Regions from separate parts of the Homo sapiens genome. Here regions 2, 3, 4, 5, 6 and 7 are each linked to region 1. The links are contacts of gene promoters, found by promoter capture Hi-C in blood cells and fetal thymus (Javierre and others, 2016). All regions are on one chromosome and are shown on one strand. Each heading gives the region's core, a stretch centred on a gene start or on the middle of the fragment in contact. The rest is flanking DNA. Distances are from core to core; before and after follow the strand shown.

Region 1 (3,820 bases), core at 941-3,440:
TTATTAAGAAATTAAAGAAGCTTTCCGCAAAACAAGATGTTTAAACAATAAGGTGTGATTGGTCTTTTATTTATTGTACAAATATTTGGCACTACTATGTGCCAGACACCGGACTGAAGACGTTTGGTAAAACTTTCAACTTCTCTGAAGCCGAGAATAAGATTTTCAATTAAATTTACATGTGTCTATTACATTTGTCTTTCATTTCTGCCTGAGTAGCCGGGAAAACACATTAGACAGGTTCCTTAAAAACTAAAGTAAAATTTGAAGGAAGGAATAATTTCGGTTTAAACTAGTGATCATTCCCAACAACTCCAAACACCACATTCACTGTCTCTTACAAGGCATTTTATGTTACACCAATTACTAGTTTTAGCTTCATCCTATTACGATTTGAAGCCTGGTAACTCGGCAGGCATAAGCAAACCCACAAAAAGCATATTAAAATCCACAGGTAAAAAAGCAAACTATTCTGAAACAAAACATGCTTTGCTGGAGCCGATTTGAGATTTAACCAGGATCAGACATTCCAAATTGCAATACTGATGCACCAGAATGTCATGAAATAAATTTTTCCTGAATCCTAAGTCTTTCGTTTCCTCAAGCAAAATTTACCAATATGTGGGGAAAACGCAATCCAAACTGCAATTTTCAAATATTTGTTTGCAGGGCCGGGCCCGGTGGCTCACGCCTGTTATCCCAGCACTTTGTGAGGCCGAGGCGGGAGGACCACCTGAGGTCAGGAGTTCGAGACCAGCCTGACCAACTTGGAGAAACCCCGTCTCTACTAAAAAATACACAAATCAGCCGGGCGTGGCGGCGCATGCCTGTAATCCCAGCTACTCGGGAGGCTGAGGCAGGAGAATCGCTTGAACCCGGGAGGTGGAGGTTGCGGTGAGCCGAGATCTCGCCATTGCACTCCAGCCTGGGCAACAAGTGCGACACTCCATCTAAAAAAATAAATAAATAAAAACTAAAAAATTATAATAGGCGCCTAAAAATATAGTTTAAAATGCTCCTTTTAATTCGGCATGAACCTGTTCCGCCAAAAGATGGCCTGTTGCTGGGAAAAATTAAAACAAACTAGAAAACATAAACGGTTCAAAAAGCCCTCCACACGCAAAAGTATAAAAAGGCGGGAATTTCCTCATTTCAAATTTTGGTTAGAAATTAGAGTGTCATCAGTTGCCCTCCAGGGAGCGCTCTGAGACTCTGCTGCGAGTCATTTCAGTTAATAAAGCGGGAAAACGCTCGAACTTAACCTATAGCATTTTGGGGCCACCCCTCCAGAGCTTTCGAAAGGGCACGGAAGTCCCCGTCTAAACGCCCGCTGCAGGCGGCTGGTGGTCCAGGGAAGCGGCGTCGACTGCGTGCAAAACAACCGCCGCCAACGCAACTCCACACCTCCCAGACCCACACGTCAAAGAACGCGAACCCCGCGGCCCCAACTTCTGGCCTCTCCGCTCCGGCGCCTGCAGCCCCGCGGGGAAGGGGCGACGCGAGGGGGCGCAGGGACAGCCCCGCACCTGGGAGGCCCGAGGGGGCGCCCGGGAGGGAGGGGCTGCAAACGGCGGCGAGCGCGCGCGGCAACCGCCAAACGCCCGCCTTTGTAGCCCCGGCCCCGCGTCCTTACCCTGCCGACGGCTGCTCGGCTCCGGCCCGCGGCGGCGGCCCCAGAGCCGAGGACCGGGGTGGGCTCGCGCTCTTCGTCACTGGAGAAGTCCGGGGGCCCCTTGCTGTTGGTGCCGGCGGGGAGCGGCGGCCGGTTGCGAGCCGTGAGGTGCTGCAGGTAGAGCTGGACGTACACGTCTTTGCGCTGCTCCCCGGCCGGCAGCGTCACATTGTTGGCGACCAACTCACTCTTCAACTTGTCTTTTGTCAGGACCGAGGGGTCTTCCAGGAACTCCGGCATCTCGGGGATCTGCGAAGCCCCCTCCCCACAGCCTTTGCCGCCGCCGCTCACGCCGGCGCGCTTGCTCCTGGCCGGGGACCGCGCTGCCGCCTCCGAGCCTCACGGCTCCTGCCCGGGAAGAGCGCTGCGGAGCGGAACAAAAACTCGCGGACACAAAGCCAAGCCAGACCCGGACACAAAAGACCCCAGAGCCGAACTACGAACCAACTGCGGCCAAGCTGGAAGCTCGCACCAACCCCAGCCCACACACTACAGGCAGGAGGCGAGCAGCCTGCTTCGCCCACGCCCCAAGAACGCGCGCCGCCATTGGCGGGCGACGGGAGGAAGCGCGGCGGTGATTGGCGAGACGGCTCGCGCGGGTTCCATTAGCCGCCGCGCTGAGCGAGAGGAGGTAGAAACGCAGTTTAAAAGGCGCTGGGGCGGGAGCCGAGGCTCCCGGCCCGCTTCTGTTTTCGTTTTCTCCACCCTTCCCCTTAGACGCCGATAAGGGACAGGTCGTACTGCTTTTGTGCGCCGTTTCCTCTCCCTCCCCCAGCTTGAGAAGCAGCTTTCGTCTCTGGGGTCGATCGCCTACGAACGCGCCGAATTCCACGCCAGTGTGAGGACCCTTGGCTGGGCCTTTCTTCCTCCCGGGACACTGAAGCTCCAAGAGTAGCCGCAGCCTTGCCTTCCCCAAACGCTAGCCCTGAAGGGGAAGAAAAGAAGCGAGGCTTGTCTGCAGGCACTCATATTCCTTGATTTGATTTACTTTGGGAGGGGGAGGGCGGGGAGTTACCCCTCTCCTCGCGAACGCTTCTTTTGTTCCAGAAACCCAGGGGAAGCCAGACCTCTACAATCGGGCACTTAAATTACCCTTGAATTTGTGACAAAAGTGTACTATACCATTCACTTCTTAGTGTCATAGTTGGGGCATGTCTAAATTGTTTAATTTGAACAGTGCGTTCAGACGCAAGACAAATTCGCGCTTGCATTTTTGTTGAAACCGTCTCTGGCTTTGGATCCCACCACCCGCAAGAATCCTAAACCTAACGTTTGATAACAAAACGAAGGAGAACCCTTGGGAACCCCCTCAATGGTCAATTTAAAATAACAGATGGTGCATAATCCTAAAGGAAGACTAGTGACCTATAATTAGGCCTAGAACCCTAATCAAACCCGTATTACCGATCCAAATTAAAACCTGGTAGAATCTAATACATTGACTGCAATTAAAATGTTTGCCTGGAAATTAGTATCACTGATGACAAATATTTGTATTTCTGATGAATATGTATGTTTAAAGATGCTTTCTTTCTAGAAAGGAAAGGAGACCTTGGATGTAGGGTGTGTTAATCATTTCCCCAGAATCTGAGCTCCAAACTATGTTTTAGAAACTGGTTAAATTTTTTTTAAATGTTTGCCTGCTTTCTACATTGCTAGGTTAGAATACATTTAAAACAAACGCCTTCACTAAAAATGTTTCCTATGATTTAAGCGACTTACTTTTATTCAAATTGCGATATTATTTCTTTTAGTGATAATTATTTTCCTAGAGGTAACTAATTCCTTTATAAAAATCTCAGTATTCACATACATTTAAGCAATGGTATTAAGCTCAATAATGCAAATTAAAAATCAGGTTTTAATTAGCAAGTTGTTAGGTAGGTTTTTATGATCCCTTGTAAAAGTTGCTTGGTTTTTTGTCCTCACAGCTTCCCTGGACACATAGGCAAATGTTTTTATCTTCAGAAGGGGAACTGAGCTGAGAGGCAAAGGACCATGACTTTGCAATGACTGGTAACCCAGTACGTATAATGCAAGAACTGCATTCTAGATACGCCTGAAATTAATGTTTCCTGGGCAAAAACATTTTCATTATCTTTTTTTTAATCCCTGGACATTAGCTACAGGTGGTTACTTGCAGATTTA
Region 2 (3,820 bases), core at 355-2,854, 2.3 Mb after region 1:
ACTGATTTCTGCCCTTATTATTTCTGTATACTCAATGGACATAGTTTCTCTTGATTAGCCTGGCTTTTCTAACATTTTTTTAGTCATCTTTATTAGGCTCTTCTCCCATGACACTCCCCTATTTTAAACTGCAACGTTTCCCAAACTTTTGTCCCCAGCCACCTTTTCTCCAGTACCATGCTTGGACTTGACAACCATTTCCATTTTAGACATCTCCAACCAATGCCTCTTTCCCACAAAACTCGCCCTTCTTCCATTGCTTACTCCAAGTCAGTGAGAATGGTGGCTGGGACCACAAACTTAAAACTTGAGTCAGGGCTCCACCACTTACGAGTGTGTTATCTTGAATAAACTAGCCAATATCCCTGTGCCTTAGTTTCTTATCTCTAAAATAGAATTACTGGGAGTATTAAATGAGAAGCCACCAAAAGTGCTAAGAACAACGTCTTGCACACAATAAGTCATCAATCATCAATAAATGTTAACTATTGTTATGTTTTATCTTTATTTTTTCAGACAGGATCACTCTGTCGCCCAGGTTTGAGTGCAGTGGCATGCTCATGGCTCACTACAGCCTCAACCTCCAGGGCTCAAGCAGTGCTGCCACCTCAGCCTCCCTAGTAGTTGGGACCACAGGCACACGCCAGCACACGTGGCCAATTTTTGTATTTTTTTTGGAGAGACAGGGTCTTGCTATGTTGCCCCTGATGGTCTCGAACTCTTGGGCTCAAGTGATCCACCCATGTCACCCTCCCAAAGTGCTGGGATTACAGGCATGAACCACCATGCCCGGCCTTAACTATTGTTATTTAGTAGCATTTCCAGTATGTTAATCACTTAGTAATCTTTGCTTCTACTTAATTTTCAATACCTACTTTACCCCTCAGACCCAGCTCAAAGTCTGCCTCTCTTGAGCTCACCTCTAAAATGTCTTCTAATTATATCCTGTGTCCACTGTTTTAATCTCAAAGATGATTCTCCCTTCAATATTTGTAGTATCATTTCCTCTAGCCAGGTATGGTCGTTGACACCTGTAATCCTAGCCCTTCCTAGGAAGCTAAAGCAGGAGGACTGCTCGAGCCCAGGAGTTCAAAACCAGCCTGAGCAATATAGTGAGACCTCGTTTCTACAAAAAAATTTCAAAACTTAGCCAGGCTTGGTGGCATATGCCTGTAGTTGTAGTCCCAGCTACTTGAGAGGCTGAGGTGGGAGGATCGCTTGAGCCCAGGAGGCAGAGGTTGCAGTGAGCCGAGATTGTGCCACCGCACTCCAGCCTGGGCAGCACAGCGAGCTCATCTCAAAAAATAAAAATAAAAATTTCCTCTTATCTTCCTGTTCCTTCCACTTTCTCTTCAGTTCTTCCTCCACACTAATATCAGTGATTGTTCTCTAAAACAGAGATCTCATCCTCCTACCTCCAGCTTAAAAAGCGTAAACATTTAACAGATAAAGAGAGAAATTCCTAAGCCTATATTCAAGGCCCACAGCTGCGTTTCCAACCTTATCTCCTATCACCTGGTCCCTTCCTGAACAGACTCTCACGTCCCCGTCATTCGGCTCTATTCATCTAAATGTACTCGATCGAAATCCTGTCCCTTCCTCCCAGCTGAGGCGCCACTGCTTCCTTGGAGCCTGTCCAGTGGCCAGCTGGAAAAAGCGCGTCTGCCCCTTACTTTCTGCAGCAGTTTGTTTACTCATCCACTATTCACATATTCTCTGTCCCTACAGTCCTTGTCGCAGAGCATTGCAAATATTTGCTGGGGTTAGATTTGTTGAACTAAAAATTACAGCACACATTCTTAATTGAAAACTTAATTAGCTCTACCTTGTTTCAAGACATACCTATTCCTACTAGGTATATTCCACATTGGAACAAAATCTGTTTCAAAAGTCATGGAACAGACATCCTTAGACAAGAAGAAAATAATAAACTGTCCAAGAAAAACCGAGTTCACTTTATTTATATAAATCAAGGTTCTTTGTTTACATTTAGCACAATGTCTTCGGTGCCTCTCTCCTTACCTAAACATTTCTCAATTTTAAAGCATACCTCTTCCAGAAAGGCGTCTTCTCTCTCCTTCCTTGGAATTCTTTCATATCTGCTATAACCTGCTATAGTAATCATATTAGGGGCCCTTCTGTACAAAAATGCTTCAGCTGTTCAACTATTACCCCAAGGATTCTGATCAACCTTTCCAATCATGGTAATAGGAAACTTGCCAGCATCATTTAAAATGTGTAAGCCAAATCTATTTTTTTCTTCCTTCATTACATCTATAGCGTACATGAAAGAGGTTTGTTGTTATTTTGAAAGAAAATTATTTTCATCAGTTTAAAAGGGATGTTGGCCAGCGTGGTGGTATGCCTGTAGTCCCAGCTACTCCAGAGGCTGAAGTGGAGGACTACTTGAACCCAGGAGTTCAAGACCAGCCTGGACAACATAATGAGACCCCGTCTCTAAATTTAAAAAAAAAAAAAAGTTCTTAAAAAAATAAGAGGCACTGCTGATAGTAATCTGAATTCTGAATATGTATCAATTGTAACATCTAGTTTTAAAAATCAGAAAGTTATTCCTCTACCATATTTTGTTGTTTACCGTTCTCAAAATTGCTATTTTCAACTTTTGCCATACTCAGTTGCTCTTTTCACAGGAAGACTAATAATATTTTAAAAGGCAAAAAATTGTTTTTCCTTAGTCTCCTGGATCCAGCCACAAAAAGAGAGCCCAAGGCCATACAACCTGTCAGCCATCCGGAATACCAGCTTGTCTTTTTTTTCAAGGGTTGTATTCTGAATGGCTTCAGGAAAGAGAACAGGTCCACTTGGTGAAATTAAAACTCTAAGCAGGTAGCCTTTAAATGCAGTAATTTCTGATGCAGAATTCTAAATATAAACTAGGAACCTCTGGTCTGCAGTGCTTCTCAAATTGGTTCCTAGACTGGGTAGTATCACTAGGAACATGACAAAAATGTTTTTGGGCCAGGCACGGTGGCTTACACCTGTAATCGCAGCAATTTGGGAGACCAAGGCAGGCAGGTCACTTGAGGTCAGGAGTTTGGGACCAGCCTGGCCAACATGGCAAAACTCCATCTCTACTAAAAATACAAAAATTAACTGTGTGTGGTGGTACACGCCTGTAGTCCTAGCTATTTGGGATGCTGAAGCAAGAGAATCACTTGGACCCAGGAGGTGGAAATTGCAGTGAGCAGAGATCACACCACTGCACTCCAGCCTGGGCAACAGAGTGAGACTCTGTCTCAAAAAAAAAAAAAAAAAAAGTTTTTATCAGGCCCTATCCCAGACCTACTGAGTCAGAAACTCTGGGAGTGGGGCCCTGCAATCTTTATTTTAACTCACCCTCTAGGAGATTATTTTGCATGCTAACTTTGAGAACCATTGGTCTACAGTAGTGACTGAGGACTGAAGAAACGAGCGGATGCACGTATCCCAACTCCCAGAGATCCTGATAACGTGTCGAATCACTGTAGACATGAACCATCATTTCCTGTTGGGAGTGTTGGGCTGGAAAAGGTATCTAAGACAAGGAATCCCAAAGAACCCCCAGCCAATAGTGCTCCATTGCTTTCCTAGGAGGTTGCCAAGGCCTGCACCAATCAGGTGGCAGAATTCCCAGTAAGGAGAGAAATGAGAGGCCACTTATTATTCACAAATACCTACTGAACTCTACAGAAGCTCTGTGTTAGATTCTAGGATTAGAGTAGTATAACAATCCCTACTGCCATGGAGTTTACTGTAACCAAACAATTTCTTTCTATTCTATTAATTTTAGAATTCTGCTGCTCTAATCTTAAGACTTTCA
Region 3 (3,820 bases), core at 651-3,150, 2.2 Mb after region 1:
ACTCCCAACCTCAGGTGATCCGCCTGCCTTGGCCTCCCAAATTGCTGAGATTACAGTCGTGAGCCACCACACTTGGCCAAGGATTAAAAATTTTAAGTGTTTGTATAAAAAACCTATAGCATGATTGAAATTTTAATTCAGTGCTCTGTCAGTGTTTTGTACAATCACTTCATGGTTTTGTTTGTTTGTTTGTTTGTTTGACATGGCATCTTGCTCTGTCACCTGGGCTGGAGTGCAGTGGCATGATCTTAGCTCATTGCAACCTCCACCTCCCAGGTTCAAGCGATTCTTCTGCCTCAGCCTCCCAAGTAGCTGGGATTACAGGTGCACACCACCACGCCTGGCTAATTTTTGTATTTTACTTTGTGTTTTATGCAAATAACAACATTGTCTCTAATGAAAAAAGTTTAAGTTTTAAACACTGGTTATTCCTCATTCTGTATGATTAGCTTACATGTCCTAGAGTGTGTTGGGTATTTGTCATGGCTTAATTATTGTGGGGAAAATAACAGAATATTTGCTTACATGCCACTTAATGAGTTCACTTTTTTTACAGTAGTTTTTATTTATAGTCATCGTTGCTGAAAATGTTATGAAGAAATAAATCTGTCTTTATCTCTGTTTGATATTTCAGAAAGACTGACAAAAGCAACATTACGTGGAATAATCTTAGTTTCCCAATAAATCCTAGATTTTATTCTTCACAATACTTGATTTGTTCTACGTGTATGTTTTGCTTATTTACCTAAAGGAAAGTCATTTAGTCATTTAAAAACAATATTTAGCCTTTTCTTTAATATTTTGCAATTATTAACAAAAAATTGTTTTAAGAATATTTCAAAAACATAAACAGTGGATTGCCACTCTAATAAGTCCTTTTATATTAGAGTAGCTTGACTATAAGGTGAAATTGTATGCAAAGAGTTTCTTACTGCAAGTGCTGAGAAAACCACACTATAACACCATTTTTACAAGTAAAGACTCATACTAGAACATCTAGTTTGGGAGTATTTTTAGCTGTTATCTTCTTTTAAAACAGTGTATGGTATGCATATTTTTCTATTCCTAAGGCCCAAACTGAGTTGGCATTCTAGAATCATTATCTATATTCCTTAAGTAAATAGAATTCTTACCTTTCCTTAATTGTATAGCAGATAATCCAAGAACAAGTTTAGCCCAAGGCGAAGTAAGATAATTCATTATATTTGCATGTTCCTTTTATGTACTTATTGTTGATAACTGATTTTTGAACATTTTCAACTGTCTTTAAATGGAGAGTTATATGCTGTCATTCTGTAACCCTTTACTGCCCTTTTACCGTTTTAAATTTGATCTAAGTATTACAAAAAGCTAGAAGTGTTTTTGACATCTAGAAAAACATTAGTTTTGCAGTACACACACGTACATATATGAGACGTGTGTGTGTGTGTGTGTGTGTGTGTATGTATATGATAAGTGCTATGAGTAAAAACTAAGGATAGAGGAATAGAGTCAGAAAAGGGCCCTCTGAAGAATGACATTTACACTGAAATGTGAATATTTAGTCATTTACCATTAAGTCACACTGTTTAATCTATCTTAATATTCATAGAAACAATAGCGTAGGATGATGGCCTCCAGATTCATCCATTTATTCTAAGCAAACTAATGTAGGAACAGAAAACCAAATACTACATGTTCTCACTCATAAGTGGGAGCTAAGCAATGAGAACGCATGGACACAAAGAGGGGATCAACAGACACCGGGGCCTACTTGAGGGTGAAGATTGGAGGAGGGAGAGGATAAAAAAACTACCTATTGGGTACTATACGTACTACTTTGGTGACAGAATAATCTGCACAGCAAACCCCCATATATGCAGTTTACCTCTATAACAAACATGTTCATGTACTCCTGAGCATAAAAGTTAAAAAAAGAAATGATAGTGTAAAGATCTTCATAATCTCAAAAATTTTTATTAAACTGATAAAATATTTTAACCAAACTCTTGAGTGTTCCAATTTTAGATAATCAGTAATTTAGCACTGCCCTATTATAGTAAATATTAAAGATTAACCTTAAAGCCAGTGTAAGTAGTAGTTTTTATGTCACAAAAGGTGTTTTTAGTTTAGCATATGTGCCTTTGTTCTCAGCTAACGAAAAAAGTTGATATGCACAGTTCTACTTAAAGATAATTAGAAATGTCAGGGAACCTATTTCATTTGGGAATATTTTTTCTTTAATAATGATCTAGGCTGTGGTAATGAAATTCTTTATTATCTGTGTTTACAAATCATTGTAACTTAATTAAAATTTTACAATTATACCACAGATTAAAAATAGGAACAATTTGAAGATGTGATTTTATTTGAAAATTTTATAGTAAGGTTTAGCTTTATAAGTATTTTTCTCTTGCTTTTATGAATTAGAAATATCTTTCTTACTCCTGACAGAATATAAAATAAGTATAGTTAAAATTACTTTATAGACCAGGATTTTCTTCACTCTTTGATGATGAAATAAGTGCCATGCGTATTATTCTGAGTTAGAAGCGCATAGAATGTCCCCTGATACATTGTTCAAATGCACTATATGAAGAAAAGGTTAAGGTTTATGTGATTCTATTTTTTTCTCTTAGACTCTCTTAAAACCATGCTGACATAGAGCATATAAAATGCTCTATGTCAGCATTGTCCAGTAGAAATGTAATGTGCACCCCATATGTAATTTTTAAGATTTTTGTAGGCATATTTTTTGAAAACTTTTTAAAAGGCAGAGTTAATTTTGGTGATTTTTTTACTTAAACATCTAAAATATTTTTCAACATTATTTTATTTTATTTTATTGATTGATTGATTGAGACAGAGTCTCTGTCACCCAGGCTGGAGTGCAGTGACACGATCCTAGCTCACTGCAACCTCTGCCCCCTGGGATCAAGTGATTCTTATGCCTCAGCCCAAGTAGCTAGGATTACAGGCGTGCACCACCATGCCTGGCTAATTTTTATATTTTTAGTAGAGACAGAGTTTTGCCATGTTGACCAGGCTGATCTTGAACTCCCGGCCTCAAGTGATCCGCTCACCTCGGCCTCTCAAAGTGCTGGGATTACAGGCATGAGACACTGCGCTTGGCCCTCAACATGTTATTAATATAATAGTTATTAACTTTTTTTTGGTGAGGGATAATAAATGTTATTGTCTGAAGCCACTAAGGTTTTTTTTTTTAATTTTTAAAAAAGTTGTAAAATACACATAGCAAAATTCACTATCTTTACCATTTTTAAGTGCAGTTCAGTGGTATTTATTTCATATTGTTCTGCATCTATCACCATTTTCCATCTCCAGAATTCATTTCATCTTGCAAGATGTAAACTCTGTACCCATTAAAGAATAACTTCCCATTCCTGTCCTTCCCCCAGCCCCTGGCAACCAAAGTCCACTGTGTATTTTACAGCTGCAGCACAACTCAGTTTGGACTACGTACTTTTCAAGTGCTTATTAGCCTGCTGTTGGCTACAGTTTTGGATAGCTCAGTTCTGTGCTGTAATAGATACTGAATCCATTTATAGTTACTCTGTGTTACAGAATGTTACTGTTATATGAATTAATTCTGTAATAACATTTCTATAATACTTTGTTATTTTTGTCCTTATTTGTCATCCAGAACAATAGGCAGGTCCCGTGGTCAGCAAAATAGCAAAAGGGTCATTCAAAAATGGTGTGGCAAGATTCTGAAGTGGTGATGTCTGTATAGTCGGATAATGCAACTGTAAAATACACAGTGGACTTTGGTTGCCAGGGGCTGGGGGAAGGACAGGAATGGGAATTTATTCTTTAATGG
Region 4 (3,820 bases), core at 931-3,430, 2.2 Mb after region 1:
CCATTTCCTCCCTCTGAAAAATCTGGGTTCCAGCTTTGCAGGGTTCCCCGCTCCAAGCTCTTGACACGTAGTTTTCTTTTCGGAGGTCTGGATCCCAGTTTCATAGGGTTTCTCCTTCAAGCCTCTGAGTTTTCATAGTTCCTACGACTTCCCTTTGTTCCTCTCAGCTCTGGTATTGACAGTTGCTTTTTGCATTTACTATGTCTGTGATACATGTCTGTCCTCCTTTTTGCCTTTTCAGTTCTCCAATTTTCCTGGTTAGCAACTTTTATTAAATTGTCTGTTAAAATTACAGGTGTAGTTTCTGTCTCTTGACTGAACCCTGCCTAATACACTGGTCAGAATACTAGGCCTTTGCCAGCCAAAGTCCAGGAGATCACATTAATAGCTACTGAGCCTCTGCAATGTGCAGAGCCTTTCCCTGTTCTTGGTATCCTGTTGGATGTCTTCTGTGGTCCCAGAGCTGCCTGGGTATACGTCATTATCACACTGCATTGTTGTCTGCTTTTCTGTAGTGTTTCTCATCTTGAGGCCAGTGCTGATGTCTTTTGTCTCTCTGTCCTTAGTTCCTAACACAGGATTCATATAAACTAGGTGAGTCATGATAAAATTACCTGATGAAGGGAGGGATCTTATTTTGATAATTTTTGGCATCTAAAATTCTTCAGAAAATGAGATGTTTAAACCAAATCTTAACCTGGTATCAAAGATTATGTGATACCCTCCAGAAGTCACCTACCTGAGGCTTGATTAGGTTTTTCTAGTTCAGTTGTTAATGAGATTGAATATGCCTCATTCTCACTGGCATATCTTACCAGCTCTTGTAAAACTGTTCCAGGGAAGAATGTAAATCCATCTATCAAGATACCTTTCAAATGATCAGGCCTCTTCCCGTCAACCCTTCCACCTCCATTACGCTTGTAGAGTGAACCCTGTTTCCTTCAATGTACTTTCTTCGTTAGTACCTAAACGTATGCTGGATACAGGGTCATGCTGAGAGTTTCCAAGACTTCTAGATATTTTGATTGCAGTATGCTTTCCTCTCCATTATTTAGTGGGGTCACCTTGGCCTGTATAAATCCCACTTCCAGATCCCTTCCCCCATCATAGTGCATGTTATAGGCTCTTGTGTCATTTCTGTCTTAATACCTTTTAGTGTAGGTTACCTTCCCCTAAGTATAATTAAACAAATCTATAATTACTATGTCTGTTCCTGCTTTATTTCCTTTATAGTGGAGATTTGTTGACTATAGATAGCTTGAATGTCTCGGTTTACTTTATAGGGATTTTTAGAGGAAAAAGTAAATATTTCTTTGAAATTTCTATGTACTTATCAAGGGATATAGATAATTTGTTTTCTGTCTTTCAGAATTTTGATGGGGATTTGGTTTAAACTTTATCTGCTCTTTGAGTTTTATAGTATAAATCTTTTTAAGAAATTGTGTTTATTTTTGTTTACTCTTGAATTTTAATACATCATAGTATGCTAATTAATATAGTGTTTGTCTCCAAATGCCAAAATGTTATGAAATTGTGAAAATTGTTTAGCTATATTCTTTTTCTTGGGAATATGATAGGAATTGCTACCTACTTGAAATTAGGCATGGCCATGTGACCTGATTTAGCCAATGAAATCTGAGCAAAAGTAATGTGTAATACCCCAGATGGACACTTTGAGTGAGTTTGTATAGACAGTACTTTGCCACTGTTTATCCTCTTGCCATAGTAGCAGCTCCTTCAGCCTAGATCCTTGAAGACTTGGAGCAGAGCCTCCAGTCAGTGCTCAGTGGATGTATAACATGAAAGAGAATAAAATCTTTGTTATTATAACCTAGTCAAATCTGACTGCTACAGTTGGTATTAATTAATGTCTTCTTTAAAGGAACATTTATCAAATAAACACATCTCAGATAAAAACAGTTGTTCTCCCATGGTGTATGTATCTTCATGTTTGTCCTTAGTGGTTATAATAATCTGTATAAATTATGAAGAGAATCTGCTGGAATGATTAGTAAGGTGCTTTATTTGTGGGCCAAATAGTAGCAGGTATTAGATACGTTGGTGGGCCAAGAAATGAAGGGAAGCCAAGAATGGAGTGATACATCTTACAAAAGAGACCAAATTTCATACCCGATGACATCAAATTTTATACCTAATGATGTCAAATATAGGCCATTTGTTTCAGGAAAAAAAAAAAAAAGCCATCTGACCAGTCAGTTTTGGAAAGTCATCTGTTGAGAATATACGGTTACCTAGTGGCAGGTCTGGGAAAAAGAAATTCACTCTTTTGACTCTAGCCATATATCCCTTTTTTGGGGTGGGGTGGGGTGGGGTGGGGTGGGGGCGGGCACGGAGGCCGAGTCTCAACTCTTGTCACCCAGGCAGGAGTGCAGTGGCTTGATCTCAGCTCACTGCAGCCTTCGCCTCCTGGGCTCAAGCAATTCTCCTGCCTCAGCCTCCTGAGTAGCTGGGATTACAGGTGTGTGCCACAACACCTGGCTACCTTTTTTTGTATTTTTACTAGAGATGGGGTTTCACCATGTTGGCCAGGCTGGTCTCGAACTCCTGACCTCAGGTGATCCACCTGCCTCAGCCTTCCAAAGTGCTGAGATTACAGATGTGAGCCATGTGCCCGGCCCCTGTATCCTTTTTATTATTAAAATATTTGACCTTGCACACTTACTAAGAAACAGGTAAATAAATATATGTATACATTTTACTGTCTTAAAATCTACTTTTACTTTTTAATTATGCTATTGTTTTTATTCTTTTTTCCCTAAACTTTTTTTTTTTTTTTTTTTTTTTTTTACAAGTTTGCACAGAGTTCTGGGCTTATGACAAGATCCTCACTGGTCCCTGCATAATCTGCATATCTGTGTGTGTATGTAGTTATACAGCAATAAAATAATTAATATCTGTTAACCCAACTTCTTATTGTCAGTAACTTAACTTTTTATGTGCTTTTCTCCTTGCCTCTCCCTAATTTGTAACTGTCATCATAAACTTTATTTTAATCCTTTGTATTTTTAAAAAGCATTATATATAGTTTACCTAAACAGTAAATATATTGTGTGTTTTTATTTTTATAAAAAATACTAAATGTAGTCTTCTGGGACTTCTTTTTGTTAAAGATCACATTACTAATATTTGTCCTTGTTGCATGTGGTTGTAGTTCATTCATTTTTACTGCTGTATAATAACATTCTATTCTATGAATTACCGTAATTTGTTACCTATTATCTGGTCTGTAATAGACATTTAGGTTGTTTCTAGTATTATGCTATTACGGACATGTTGCTGTGACTATTTCTGTTCATATTTTTGGGTAAATGTGTTACAGTTTCTCTTGGATATGTACCCAGGATTAAAATCTCAGGATACCTTTCTCAGGAAGAATTTGAATTTACTGGCCTAATATTATTACTAGTTAACATTTCACCAGATAAAATAAGCTGGATTGCTCTCACAGAGAAGGTAGGGCATGTACAACCCAGAGGTGTAACCTCTCAGTGCTTGCTTTATCAGTTAAAAAGGTTGGTTTTCAAATGGCTAGGTAGGGTAATTTGAATCTCAGAATTATCAGTAGTCTACTATAACCTTTCTGTAGTTGTACTTTGAGAGACGCATTACTTATATGCACACTCACGACCGAGAGTGTTCATCACATAACTGAGATGTAAAATAATTGCCTTCTCGTCTCTCCTGTTTTCGTTTGTTTGTTTTTTGAGACAGGGTCTCACTTTGTCTCCCAGGTTGGAGTGCAGTCACAGCTCACTGCAGCCTTAAACTCCTGGGCTCAAGCGATTCTCCTGCCTCAGCT
Region 5 (3,820 bases), core at 381-2,880, 2.1 Mb after region 1:
GTTCCTCTCAATCTTTGAGGCATTTTAAATGCTTACCCCTTGCTTTCTGGTTATACCTGCATCAGCATGGTTGTGGCCATATAGGTGATTCAGATGACTTATAGTAAAAGAAATACTTAGGCATTTACTCTCAGTAAGAAGTCTCAACTTTCTGATTACTGATCATGATTATTATAGTAAATGGAAACTCCTTTAGAGTTTCTTTTCACTGTTAAATTGTATATTTTGTAGTATTTTTTCTACTGATTATCAGTATTGTGGATTATTCATGTATCAATTGGTTTTTTCCTTATCCTGTTTCTTATAGGATTCCTTTTTAGATTATTAAACCTGTCTGTGATCTGTTTCTCATCTTCCTTAGAACTCCTACTGGTTTTATGGTCCTCTGATTACTAAACTCTATTTTATAATCTTCAGAAGTTTAATTAGTAGGCCAGTTTGCTGTTTTAACTCATTAAGAAACTGGCCAGTAGTGTCAGTGGATACTGCCTAATATAGGGTGATGATTTATCTTAACCTTTTATAACAGTATTAATATTTTCCCCACATTGCTTGTGATGAGACTAGTGTCACTGAACTGAGCTTGTAACAGACATTTGGGAAGCTGTCTGGTGGTACTGCGGAATTTTGGCTGCTGGAAAATACCACCAAAAATTATCTGTTGAGTATATTGCTTATAAGCATTTGTAGGGGGCCATGTGGGTGTTGATAAGAATGGCAAACCAGAAAGGAACATCAAAGTTGGAGTGTTTATTATTGATGTTTTGGAGTCTGGTTTAAGTATTTCAAAGCTTTATTAGAATTAGGTGAGGATCATGATATAATAGTTTGATTGGACAGACATACCAAGGTAAGAGTTTTGAGGTAAGCTTTTTCAGTGTCTTAGAAAGTGAACAATCATTTGCTACTATTTATTGAAAAATTGAATAGTCTGATGTTGGTTTATATGGGTTTTTTGGGAAGTTCCTGAAATGAACAATGAAGTTTTTTGTAGCTCTTATCTGCCTGAGCAGGAGTTTCCTGGAATAGCAAAGTCATGTTGTTGAAGACAGCTGTATAATGATAGTTAATATAGATTGTAAACTTGGTGTAGACAGTTTCAGTTCTCAGTGTCCATTTAGAACCACAAGAAACTTGAACATGTATTTATAAAAAGTCTGATTCTTAGGCTCATTTGCAAAGACAATGCATTCTCTTGGTGAATAGTTTGACTTTCAATTTTTCCCCTGGGGAATGAGGCCTGACTTTAACAATTAGGTGTCAGACATGCCCAAGTAGGCAGTTGGATAGGTGAGTCTGCAGCTTAATAAAGAGGTCAGGATCACTGTAATACCAGCAGTTTGGGAGGCCAAGGCAGGTGGATCACCTGAGGTCAGGAGTTTGAGACCAGCCGGGCCAACATCGTGAAACCCCATCTCTACTAAAAATACAAAAAATTACCCAGGCGTGGTGGTGGGTGCCTGTAATCCCAGCTACTCAGGAGGCTGAGGCAGGAGAATCACTTGAACCCAGGATGCGGAGGTTGCAGTGAGCTGAGCCCAGGATGCGGAGGTTGCAGTGAGCTGAGATCGCGCCATTGTACTCCAGCCTAGGCAACAAGAGCAAAACTCTGTCTCAAAAAAAAAAAAAAAAAAAAAGGTTAGGATCAGAGATGGAAATTTGGGAGTCACTGTGTGTAGATGTTGTCCACCCAGAATGAGCTTGCCTAAGGAGGAAACATAGAAGAAAAATGCTTGTGCCAGGACTTAGGCCACACTGGTGTGTGTGTATGTGTGGCTGAGGGTGGGGTAAAGGGGTGGAATAAATCTGCAGAGGAGTGGCCAGAGAGGTTGGAAGAAAACCAAGATATTGTTATAGAGAAGCCAAGGAAAATGTGTTTAGGATAATGAAGGACTGGTCAAACTCCTATAATTATAGGCAAGGAGCAGTGAAGATAACTGGTGTAGGTTAGTTCAGGAAATTTCTACCTGAAAGCTCTATGTTTAACTCATTTTTGTGTACATATGTATACACACAGGCACACTGTATGGGTTAGGGAAAGGGTCATCATATAATTGTGGATGGTGGAGATGGTTTGAAGTAGACATTGGGGAGAGTAGGAGACCAAGTGCAGCAGAGAAATATAGTAAGATTATTGGCCAGTGTTGAGGCCCATTTAGGTTCGCTGATCAAACTGTTCTGTTGTGTGACTGTTCAGCAGTGCTGAGATGAACTGGTGCTGATGTGGAGAAAGTCTTAGGTGGATTAGGATTGGGATGGACAAGAATATATTTGTGCATTACAGTAGATCCAAGTATATGTACCTTTCTGCCTTTGGAGTGGCTGTAGCATTGTGTTGTTTCATTTATTTCTGATGGGCTCTTCTCATGACCTCACTTGCTTGAAAGCTTACTGCTTGACTGGTATTCAGCCCATCTGAACTTACTTTACTTCTGTGGAGAAGTAAATTAGTTCCCCCCTTTTCCTGGTTTCCACAGAGTCTTGAGATCTCTGATGTTGCTTCTTAGGAAGAAGGGGCATTTGACTAAATTTATAAAGGAAGTATAAGAATTTGCCAAGAGGTCAGAGAATGGGATGAAGGGGAAGGGGTTAATTGTTCCTGGTAGAGGGATATGCTTGTGCAAAGTTAAGAGGCCTGAGCAAAACACCTTAAGGGAATAGAAGCTACAAATAATTTCTTTGAGGCAATGAAGCACTCACTGTGTATCTCTGGAGATGGAGCTGAAAAGTAGTGGGGTCAGAACACAAAGTTCTTGTAAGGCTAGGTGAAGAATGACCTGTTGGCCCCAGAGATTAATTTTTACTTAACAATTTTTCTACGCATGTACAAAATAACGGCTGTTCACAGAACTATTCAGTTCATGACATTCTTCACCTAAGAATTGCCTAGTGGGAAAATGTGTTTGCAGATTAGTTATCTGAATTTGATAATATTTTCATAGAAATAATTTTACCAATTTGGCTGCCGTGTTGCTCCATGAAAGTTACTTAATTTCTCATTTTGGCTGTTAATGGGGAAAGAGGGTTAGTGATATGTAGCTTGCAATTTTATATACAGAACATAAATCAGATGTTCATAATTTGGGAGTATACAGTGGCAAAAATAGTATATGTTAAATGCTTACTGTGTGCTAGGTACAATACATGCATTCTGATTTAGATCTCACATCCTTTTGGAGTAATTGTTTTTTGTTTTTTTGAGACGGAGTCTTGCTCTGTCGCCCAGGGTGGAGTGGTCTTCGCTCTGTCGCCCAGGGTGGAGTGCAATGGCGCGATCTTGGCTCACTGCCACCTCCACCTCTCAGGTTCAAGCGATTCTCCTGCCCCAGCCTCCTAAGTAGCTGGGACTACAGGGGCACACCACCACGCCCAGCTAATTTTTGTATTTTTAGTAGAGACAGGGTTTCACCATCTTGGTCAGGCTGGTTTTGATCTCCTGACCTTGTGATCTGTCCGCCTTGGCCTCCCAAAGTGCTGGGATTACAGGCGTGAGTCACTGTGCCCAGCCATTGAGGTAATTGTTAATTCTTTTCTCTCTCTCTCTTTTCTTCTGAGATGGAGTTTTGCTCTTGTCACCTAGGCTGGGGTGCAATGGCGCAATCTCGGCTCACTGCAACCTCTGCCTCCCAGGTTCAAAGTGATTCCCCTGCCTCAGCCTCCCTAGTAGCTGCAATTACAGGTGCCTGCCACCACGCCCGGCTAATTTTTTGTATTTTTAGTAGAGACGGGGTTTCGCCATGTTGGCCAGGCTGATATCCAACTCTTGACCTCAGGTTATCCGCCTGCCTAGGCCTCCCAAAGTGCTGGGATTACAGGCACT
Region 6 (3,820 bases), core at 574-3,073, 2.1 Mb after region 1:
AATTTTTTTTTTTTTTGAGATGGAGTCTCACTCTGTTGCCCAGGCTGGAGTGCAGTGGCGTGATCTTGGCTCACTGCAACCTCCGCCTCCCGGGTTCAAGTGATTCTCCTGCCTCAGCCTCCCGAGTAGCTGGGATTACAGGCGTGCACCACCATGTCCAGCTAATTTTTGTATTTTTAGTAGAGATAGGGTTTCACCATGTTGGCCAGGCTGGTCTTGAGCTCCTGACCTCATGATCTGCCTGCCTTGGCCTCCCAAAGTGCTGGGATTACAGGTGTGAGCCACTGCACCTGGTCTATACTTGTGAGAAACTATCAAGTAACAGCATTGAAGCCCTTATCACTCCAAATTTAGACTTGCTCTTCTTTAAATTAGTTAATATGTGTTTTTTAGTATTATTTTAGAATAAACATTTTTTGAAGTATAACAACTTAGATTTTAGTATTTTATATTATTGACTTGTAATGTTATTTCTGGTGGAAAAAGAAGCTTTTCATTGAGTATGTGTGTGTGTGTTTGTGTTTGTTAAGATACAGGGTCTCACTCTGCCACCCAGGTTGATTGCAGTGGTGTGATCACTGCTTCTTGTAGCCTTGATCTCTGGGGCTCCAGTGATCCTCCCACCTCAGCCTCCCAAATAGCTGGGACTACAGGTTCAGCGCCACCAGTCTTGGCTAAGTTTTGTGTTTTTAGTAGAGATGGGGTTTTGCCATATTGCCCAAGCTGTTCTTGAACTCCTGAGCTCAAGCAATCTGCCTGCCTCAGCCTCCCAAAGTGCTGGAATTACAGGTGTGAGCCACTGTGCCCAGATTTTTTACTGATTCTGAAGTAAAATTGGATTCCTTAGACTTAAGCACCTTGAGTCTGACCTATTAAATTAGCTTTTTTTTTTTTTTTTTTTTTTTTTGAGGCGGAGCCTCACAGGCTGGAGTACAATGGCACAATCTTGGCTCACTGCAACCTCCACCTCCCGGGTTCAAGCGATTCTCCCTGCCTCAGCCTCTCGAGTAGGTGGAATTACAGGTGTCTGCCACTATGCCCTGCTAATTTTTGTAGTTTTTAGTAGAGATGAGGTTTCACTATCTTGGCCAGGCTGGTGTTGAACTCCTGACCTCGTGATCCACCCGCCTCAGCTTCCCAAAGTGCTGGGATTACAGGTGTGAGCCACTGTGCCTGGCCTTAAATTGGTTTTAAGAAGTGGTCCTTTATGTCTCAATTTGAGTTAATAAATTTAATTTTTCAATTAACTCAGGTTTGCAGTTGGTATTTTTAAAGCATTTGTTACGTCCTCAATATTGTATTAGCCGTTATCTGTGTTGTAACAATATAATTTAATGTGGCAATATTGTAACATATAAGATAACAGCAATGTTGGTTGTCTGAGTATTCTGTCCACAGCCTTCTTTCCAGGTTTTATGTGTTCCTGGCAATCTGGTCTATATTTAGGGCTTTGTTCTCATCACCCATATGCAATAATCTCCACCTCTTTATTTCTAATCTAGACCTCTTTTTCTGAGTTGCATTCCAGCTTCCTACTCGATATTGCCTTAGTGCTCCCTTACCTAAACTGAACTCGAATCCCCTATTTCTGTTCCCAATTTCAGTGAATGGTACCACTGTCAGCCTAGTCACGTAAGCCAAAAACTTTGGCAGCTTCTTTCTTACGCTTTTCTGTTATGCTCATTTCCCCTTAGTCCAGTTAGTCACACCAAGTCCTGTTAATTTTAATTCCTAAATATCTTTTAAATTTATTTTTTCCTGTGTCACTTTCTTACGTAAGGGTTTTGGAATGTCTTATCTGATTTACTGGCTCCAGTTTTGTCCCATTTTAATCTAACCATATTCTTTCTTTATGTTTATATATGTATCTTATTTTATCCTTTTTTCCGTACTGCCGTCCATTCATCCATCCATGTCTGAAGTACCTGCCTACTCTGTACTAGACACTATGGTAGGGGCTAGGATACAAAGATGAAGAAACTGGTATGTTGATATTACAATGCTATGACACTTGTAGAGAAATTCTCATTTTTAAGCCCAAACGTCTCTTTCTCCAACGTGATCTTTGTTCCATTCTGACAGTTATGGTGGTTCTGCTATATAGTATTTATGTATACTGTAGTACTTAATATGTTATGTTGTAATTAATTATTTTCAGGTCTCTCCCTCTTTTGGCTGGCGTTGTGCTCCAGAGAGGCCGTGTTTTTTTTCATTTCTGTATTTCTTCCCGTATTATCATACTCTTAAATTGAATAAAGTGATGGAATTAGGAGGAACAACACCGAGTTGGTAAATTAAGGTCAGAGTAGGCTTAGAAGCAATCAAGAATACATTTTGATATAGTAGATAATAAAAAGTGTAAAAGGTTTCAAATATTGGAGCTATACAGTTTTGGTGGTATTTGTGTGAGAGCAATCTAGAGCAGTTTGTAGGCCAACTTGGAGGGACAGTAACTTGGCATTATTGAGACTGTTTAATTGCATGTGAGCTGTACTAACTTGTTAGTGAAAATGGAGAGAAAAGGGGTGTGGCCTTCAAAGATTGTTGTCTTTTAGACAAAATGGAAATATAAAATTATAATGTTAATATGTAAAGAAAGTACTCATTTCTGAAGGTCTAAAAATATTGGTCAGTGTATCAGGAGTAAAATTTGGTTTAACCGAAAAAAACTGGCCTGCCGCGGTGGCTCACGCCTGTAATCCCAGCACTTTGGGAGGCCAAGGCGGTCAGATCACTTGAGGTCAGGGGTTCGAGACCAGCCTGGGCAACATGGCGAAACCCCATCTCTACTAAAAATACAAAAAATTAGCCGGGCGTGGTGGCTCAGGCCTGTAATTCCAGCTACCTGGGAGGCTGAGGCATGAGAATTGCTTGAACCCGGGAGGTGAAAGTTGTAGTGAGCTGAGATCACACCACTGCACTCCAACCTGAGTGACAGAGTGAGACTCTGTTTCAAAAAAAAAAAGAAAAAAAAAATCAAAAACAAAACAACCCCCCGCCCCAAAATCGTCCTTAATGAAATCTAGCTATTTAACTGTGTAGTATTGGCTTAAATGCGCTTACTGCAGTGCAGAATTGTACTCAAAGGATCAAACAGTGCATTTAATGTTATTCATTCTGCTGTGGTAGTTTATGTATACAGTTGACTAGAAGCTTTGTTTTTCTTTTTTTTTTTGAGATGGAGTCTCCCTCTGTCGTTTAGGTTGGAGTGCAGTGGTGCAATCTCAGCTCACTACAACCTCCACCTCCCGGGTTCAGTAAATTCTCCTGTCTCAGCCTCCCGAGTAGCTGGGATTATAGGCGTGTGCCACCATGCCTGGCTAATTTTTGTATTTTTAGTAGTGTTGGCCAGGCTGGTCTCTAACTCCTGAGCTCAGGTAATCCACCCACCTTGGCCACCCAAAGTGTTGGGATTACAGGTTTGAGCCGCCACACCCAGCCTTGTTTTTAAATGGAATTACAGTAATTAAATAAAAACTGTTCCATGGTCTACTTTTAAACTTGAAGGATTTTTTTTCTTTTTCTTTTCTGTCTTTTTTTTTTTTTTTTTTTTGAGATGGAGTCTCACCCCATCGTCCAGGCTGGAGTGCAGTGGTGCGATCTCTGCTAACTGCAATCTCCACCTCCCAGGTTCAGGCGATTCTCCTGCCTCACCCTCCTGAGCAGCTGGGACTACAGGTGCACGCCATTGTGTCTGGCTAATCTTTGTATTTTTAGTGGAGACCATGTTTCACCATGTTGGGCAGGCTGGTCTTGAACTCCTGAGCTCAGGTGATCCACCCACCTAGGCCTCCCAAAGTGCTGGGATTAAAGGCGTGAG
Region 7 (3,820 bases), core at 982-3,481, 2.1 Mb after region 1:
AGTAATGGCAGCCTTTATGTTGAAATTTGCTTTGGGGGAAGAATTTTAATTTTTTTCTTTTGTATTTGCTCACTGAATTTATTTTAGATTACTCCATTTACGTGAATAAACAAGAATGAGAGAAGAAAATTTTTTATAGGATTTTTTTTCTGTGTGAAGAAGTCAATTTCTAATACAATAAGATAAAATATGTGCCAAAATTAGGCGGGATGTTTATGTGCATTTTTGTGAGAAAGTGATTCTTATCTTTGATCAGGTCAAAAGAGGTGAATGACCCTCTCCCACCAATAAACAGGGTTAAGAATTGCTCGTTTAAACACCCACTTTAGGCTGGGCACAATGACTCACACCTATAATCCCAGCACTTTGGGATGCCAAGGCTGGAGGATTGCTTGAGTCCAGGAGTTTGAGACCAGCCTGGGCAAAACAGTGAGACCCCATCTCTACAAAAAATACAAAAATTAGCTGGGCTTGATGGCATGCACCTGTTGTACCAGCTACCTGAGAGGTTAAGAGGATACCTCGAGCCTGGGAGGCAGAGGCTGCAGTGAACTATTATCATGCCATTGCACTCCAGCCTGGGAGACAGATGGAGACCCTGTCTCAATAAATAAATGGCGACTTTATTTTATAGTGAATAAGTGAAGCCCCTGGAACATCAAACATTTGCCTAAGGTGACACAGCTAGTAAGTGTTAGGACTGGAATTTGAATCCAGTTATCTTATGTCTAAGGCGTAAGAGACATGTACTATATGAACTACTATATATGTAGCCATTACATTTCCTCAATGGGGCATCCCATAGTGACATAAGAAAGTTATTTGGAACCAGAACAAATCAAACCAAACCAAACCAAAACAAAACAAAAAAACAACCAATAAAACAAACAACAAAATTATGTGAAAGTGAAGTCTTTTGTTCCAAATGTGTGACTATCAGATTTTCTCAACCTTGACTTCCAACCTGTCCAAACCTGTGCTAACTGCCAGCTGCTTGGAAAATCCATCTGCCACCTACCGCATCTTGTTCCTGCTTGTTTTTCTTCTTTAATGACAGATGTCCCAGTTACAAATCCAATAGCAGATTTAAGCATCTGAAATAACCAACACCAGCCTTTACCTGGGTGTGTCTCTATTCTCAAAACCCAAACTCTGGCTTTTCCTGGTGTGTCACTTTGCCATTGTCTGAACTCTGGATATAATACTTTATACTACAGTTTGGTGAGTTCTTGGGGCTATATGTTGAAATAAACCCATTGCTTTAAAGAGAAAAAGGTACAGGAAGCTAATTTAAAGCTTTTTTAATTTTCAAGTATAAAAAAGTCATACATTTTCACATTTAATTCAATAAAATATCTTTTCATAGCCTGAATTTTTTTTTTTTTTTTGAGTTCAAGAATTTCTTTTTTTCTTTCTTTCTTTTTTTTTTTTTTTGAGATAGAGTCTCACTTTTGTCACCCAGGCTGGAGTGCAATGGTGAAATCTCGGTTCACTGCAACCTCCACCTCCCGGGTTCAAGGGATTCTCCTGCCTCAGCCTCCCGAATAGCTGGGATTACAGGCATGCACCACCATGCCTGGCTAATTTTTTTTGCAGTTTTTGTAGAGATGGGGTTTCACTATGTTGGCCAGGCTGGTTTCGAACTCCTGACCTCAGGTGATCTGCCCGCCTCAGCCTCCCAAAGTGCTGGGATTATAGGTGTGAGCCACCGTGCCCAGCCAAGAATTTCTTTTTAATTGCCGATCAAAACAACAAAAGAGAGTTGAGATTTTGACTCTTGGTATTTCCTGTCTGCCATTTCGAAGATGGGGTAGGCTATTTGAATTACATCTGCTGTTAGTATATGAACAATAAATAACAACATTAGCTATCAATATCAATATGGTGCTGTGATGCTGAGAACTATATAAGCATTGCCTCTGGCCTCCTTACAATCACTTTGCAAAGCAGAAAGTATTATCCCAATCTGCAGATGAGAAAATGGAGATCAAAGAAGTTAAGTGACTTGCTAAGTAGGAATACACGGTTATAAGTGACAGAGTCAGAGTTGGAACCCAGGAGCAAATATTTTTTAAAAATTCATATTAAGCCCAGCATGTGGACAAAAACTTTCTTTTCATGAATGAGTATAATTTAAAGGTAGTCTAGGAAAAACAGGTACCTACTGCTGGGAATCCCAACGGCCTTTGTTAGTTCCCAGTCCAATTTCCCCACTGTAAGCAGGAATCCTTTAGTTTGTAGCAGCAGTGGGTGAAATCAAGGTGGGTGGTTTGGGAGAATAAACTAAAATGGACATCCCATCTGGGAAGTTAATAGTATCCAGGGAAATGGTGGCAGAGGCAGCCATCCCTGTATCTGATTTCTCACAAAAATGCACATAAACACCCCCCCATCCCCAATTTTGGTAAACACTGCATCTTAATGCATTAGAAATTGACTTCCTTCATATAGAAAAAAAATCTTAGAAAAAATTTTCTTCCCTCGTTTTTGTTTATTCACATAAATGGAGTAATCTGAAATAAATCCAATGTGTGCAAACACCAAAGAAAAAAATTAAAACCCTTCATTCAAAGCAGCATGTGCAGACTCCGCTTGCATGAAAACATTGTGGTACCCAGCAATGGAGAAGGGGAATTAAATGATCTATATGGTAGCTGACTGGGCAGGACCCCAAACAAGAGTGGCACCCCTTCACTCCAATGACTCCTAGGCACGTTTTGGGAAAGACTTTGCAGGGAGTTAGGGAAGGTTCACAAAACACAGGTCACAGAGTATTAGGCAGCCAACAAATAGAATAATCATGCAGACTCTATAGCAACAGGAACAAGTATTTACGATAATGACAAATGAAGAACATAATACAAATCTACCTGTATACTATTAAAGCATATATGAATATGAAATAAAGGCTAAAAAGAAATACTCCAAAATGATACAAGTTACTGTGTTGGAGTTGTAAAGTTATGGGCAATTTTCTTTCATTTCTAAATTTTTTTATGATGTTGCTAATGTATGATTTTAAAAGTGTTTACCAAAAAAAGATAAAAGGGGAAGAGATAAATTAATATTTTATATTATATGGGAAAAGTGGAAAGTTCTTAAAAACCTAATGACTTTTTCTTCCATTCTTCCTCTATCATCTTTTCAAAGTCTACTTAAAGCTTCTTCTCATTCCAGTTCATTCTCTGTTTTGAATAAAACTGATCAGTCCCCCTCAGGCTCAATTCCAGCATAGTTTGAGCCTGTTGTATTTTGCTAGCTTGGTGTCACTTGTGTGAACCATACAGACTTGTCTCAATCTGATTTGGAAGTATGTGACCTGCAGGAAAAAGCTGAGATATTCAGTTTGCAAAACAGCAAAAGGCAGGAATCAGATACAAAAAGAAAGGCAGTGTTTCTCAGGTAAGCAAATAAAAAACCTTGCATGTAGTTTTACTGTTAATAAACAATTAACATTTGAAGTAAATATGTCAGAAGCTATAGAACGAATAGAAATAGGTTGACTTCCTTCCAAATTCTGCTTTGTGCTAAGATATTTGGTCAAACTACATATTATGCATTCATTGAGGCCAAGGATTGCCACTTAAGGTACTGCTGCATTCTCTATAGCACTCAATGCTAGATTCCTAATTAGGCACCAGTAAGTGCTCATCAACTTGTCTCTTAAGCAATGTAACCTGCTTTGGTTTCCTACTCCTACCACTTCTCCCAGCTAGAAGTCCCCCTCTTCTACTGAGCAGCATATTCAAACTTTTATCTTAGGCTATTAGCTCTTTTTAAGTTATGGCCAGACCTTCTTCACCCCGATAGACACTAAGCC

Evidence for each region. Contacts are between HindIII fragments. The CHiCAGO score rates a contact against its expected background, and 5 or more counts as called.
Region 2: a contact is called between a fragment that was not itself captured here and the fragment with the promoter of TMPO in region 1, in 2 of 17 cell types (non-activated CD4 T cells and total CD4 T cells). The highest score is 7.6, in non-activated CD4 T cells.
Region 3: a contact is called between a fragment that was not itself captured here and the fragment with the promoter of TMPO in region 1, in 1 of 17 cell types (activated CD4 T cells). The highest score is 6.7, in activated CD4 T cells.
Region 4: a fragment that was not itself captured here is called in contact with the fragment with the promoter of TMPO in region 1 in 3 of 17 cell types (total CD4 T cells, non-activated CD4 T cells and naive CD8 T cells); the score reaches 10.0 in total CD4 T cells.
Region 5: a fragment that was not itself captured here is called in contact with the fragment with the promoter of TMPO in region 1 in 4 of 17 cell types (non-activated CD4 T cells, naive CD8 T cells, erythroblasts and 1 more); the score reaches 12.4 in non-activated CD4 T cells.
Region 6: a contact is called between a fragment that was not itself captured here and the fragment with the promoter of TMPO in region 1, in 1 of 17 cell types (naive B cells). The highest score is 6.1, in naive B cells.
Region 7: a contact is called between a fragment that was not itself captured here and the fragment with the promoter of TMPO in region 1, in 1 of 17 cell types (naive CD8 T cells). The highest score is 7.3, in naive CD8 T cells.

Annotation. Positions count from the first base shown.
Region 1 is chr12:98,513,960-98,517,779 of GRCh38, reverse strand. It overlaps TMPO (thymopoietin), which reads right to left and starts at 2,190. Exons shown (of 9, transcript NM_001032283.3): 1 at 1,634-2,190. The coding sequence starts at 1,912. TMPO-AS1 (TMPO antisense RNA 1) reads left to right here and starts at 1,554. Exons shown (of 2, transcript NR_027157.1): 1 at 1,554-1,789; 2 at 1,883-3,820. RefSeq lists a silencer at 1,431-1,700 and enhancers at 2,041-2,230, 2,491-2,570. The HindIII fragment of the contact is 4,246 bases long and covers 23-3,820 here.
Region 2 is chr12:96,261,476-96,265,295 of GRCh38, reverse strand. All of the region lies in intron 4 of ELK3 (ETS transcription factor ELK3), which reads right to left. Among named protein-coding and RNA genes, the nearest start is that of ELK3, 69 kb to the right of the region's middle. The HindIII fragment of the contact is 7,613 bases long and covers 1-3,820 here.
Region 3 is chr12:96,338,941-96,342,760 of GRCh38, reverse strand. The region is part of intron 1 of CDK17 (cyclin dependent kinase 17); the gene reads left to right. Among named protein-coding and RNA genes, the nearest start is that of CDK17, 60 kb to the left of the region's middle. The HindIII fragment of the contact is 6,875 bases long and covers 1-3,820 here.
Region 4 is chr12:96,357,359-96,361,178 of GRCh38, reverse strand. All of the region lies in intron 1 of CDK17 (cyclin dependent kinase 17), which reads left to right. Among named protein-coding and RNA genes, the nearest start is that of CDK17, 41 kb to the left of the region's middle. The HindIII fragment of the contact is 4,569 bases long and covers 1-3,820 here.
Region 5 is chr12:96,373,328-96,377,147 of GRCh38, reverse strand. The region is part of intron 1 of CDK17 (cyclin dependent kinase 17); the gene reads left to right. Among named protein-coding and RNA genes, the nearest start is that of CDK17, 25 kb to the left of the region's middle. The HindIII fragment of the contact is 1,518 bases long and covers 872-2,389 here.
Region 6 is chr12:96,390,442-96,394,261 of GRCh38, reverse strand. All of the region lies in intron 1 of CDK17 (cyclin dependent kinase 17), which reads left to right. Among named protein-coding and RNA genes, the nearest start is that of CDK17, 8.1 kb to the left of the region's middle. The HindIII fragment of the contact is 2,664 bases long and covers 492-3,155 here.
Region 7 is chr12:96,412,066-96,415,885 of GRCh38, reverse strand. No RefSeq gene overlaps it. Among named protein-coding and RNA genes, the nearest start is that of CDK17, 14 kb to the right of the region's middle. The HindIII fragment of the contact is 1,865 bases long and covers 1,299-3,163 here.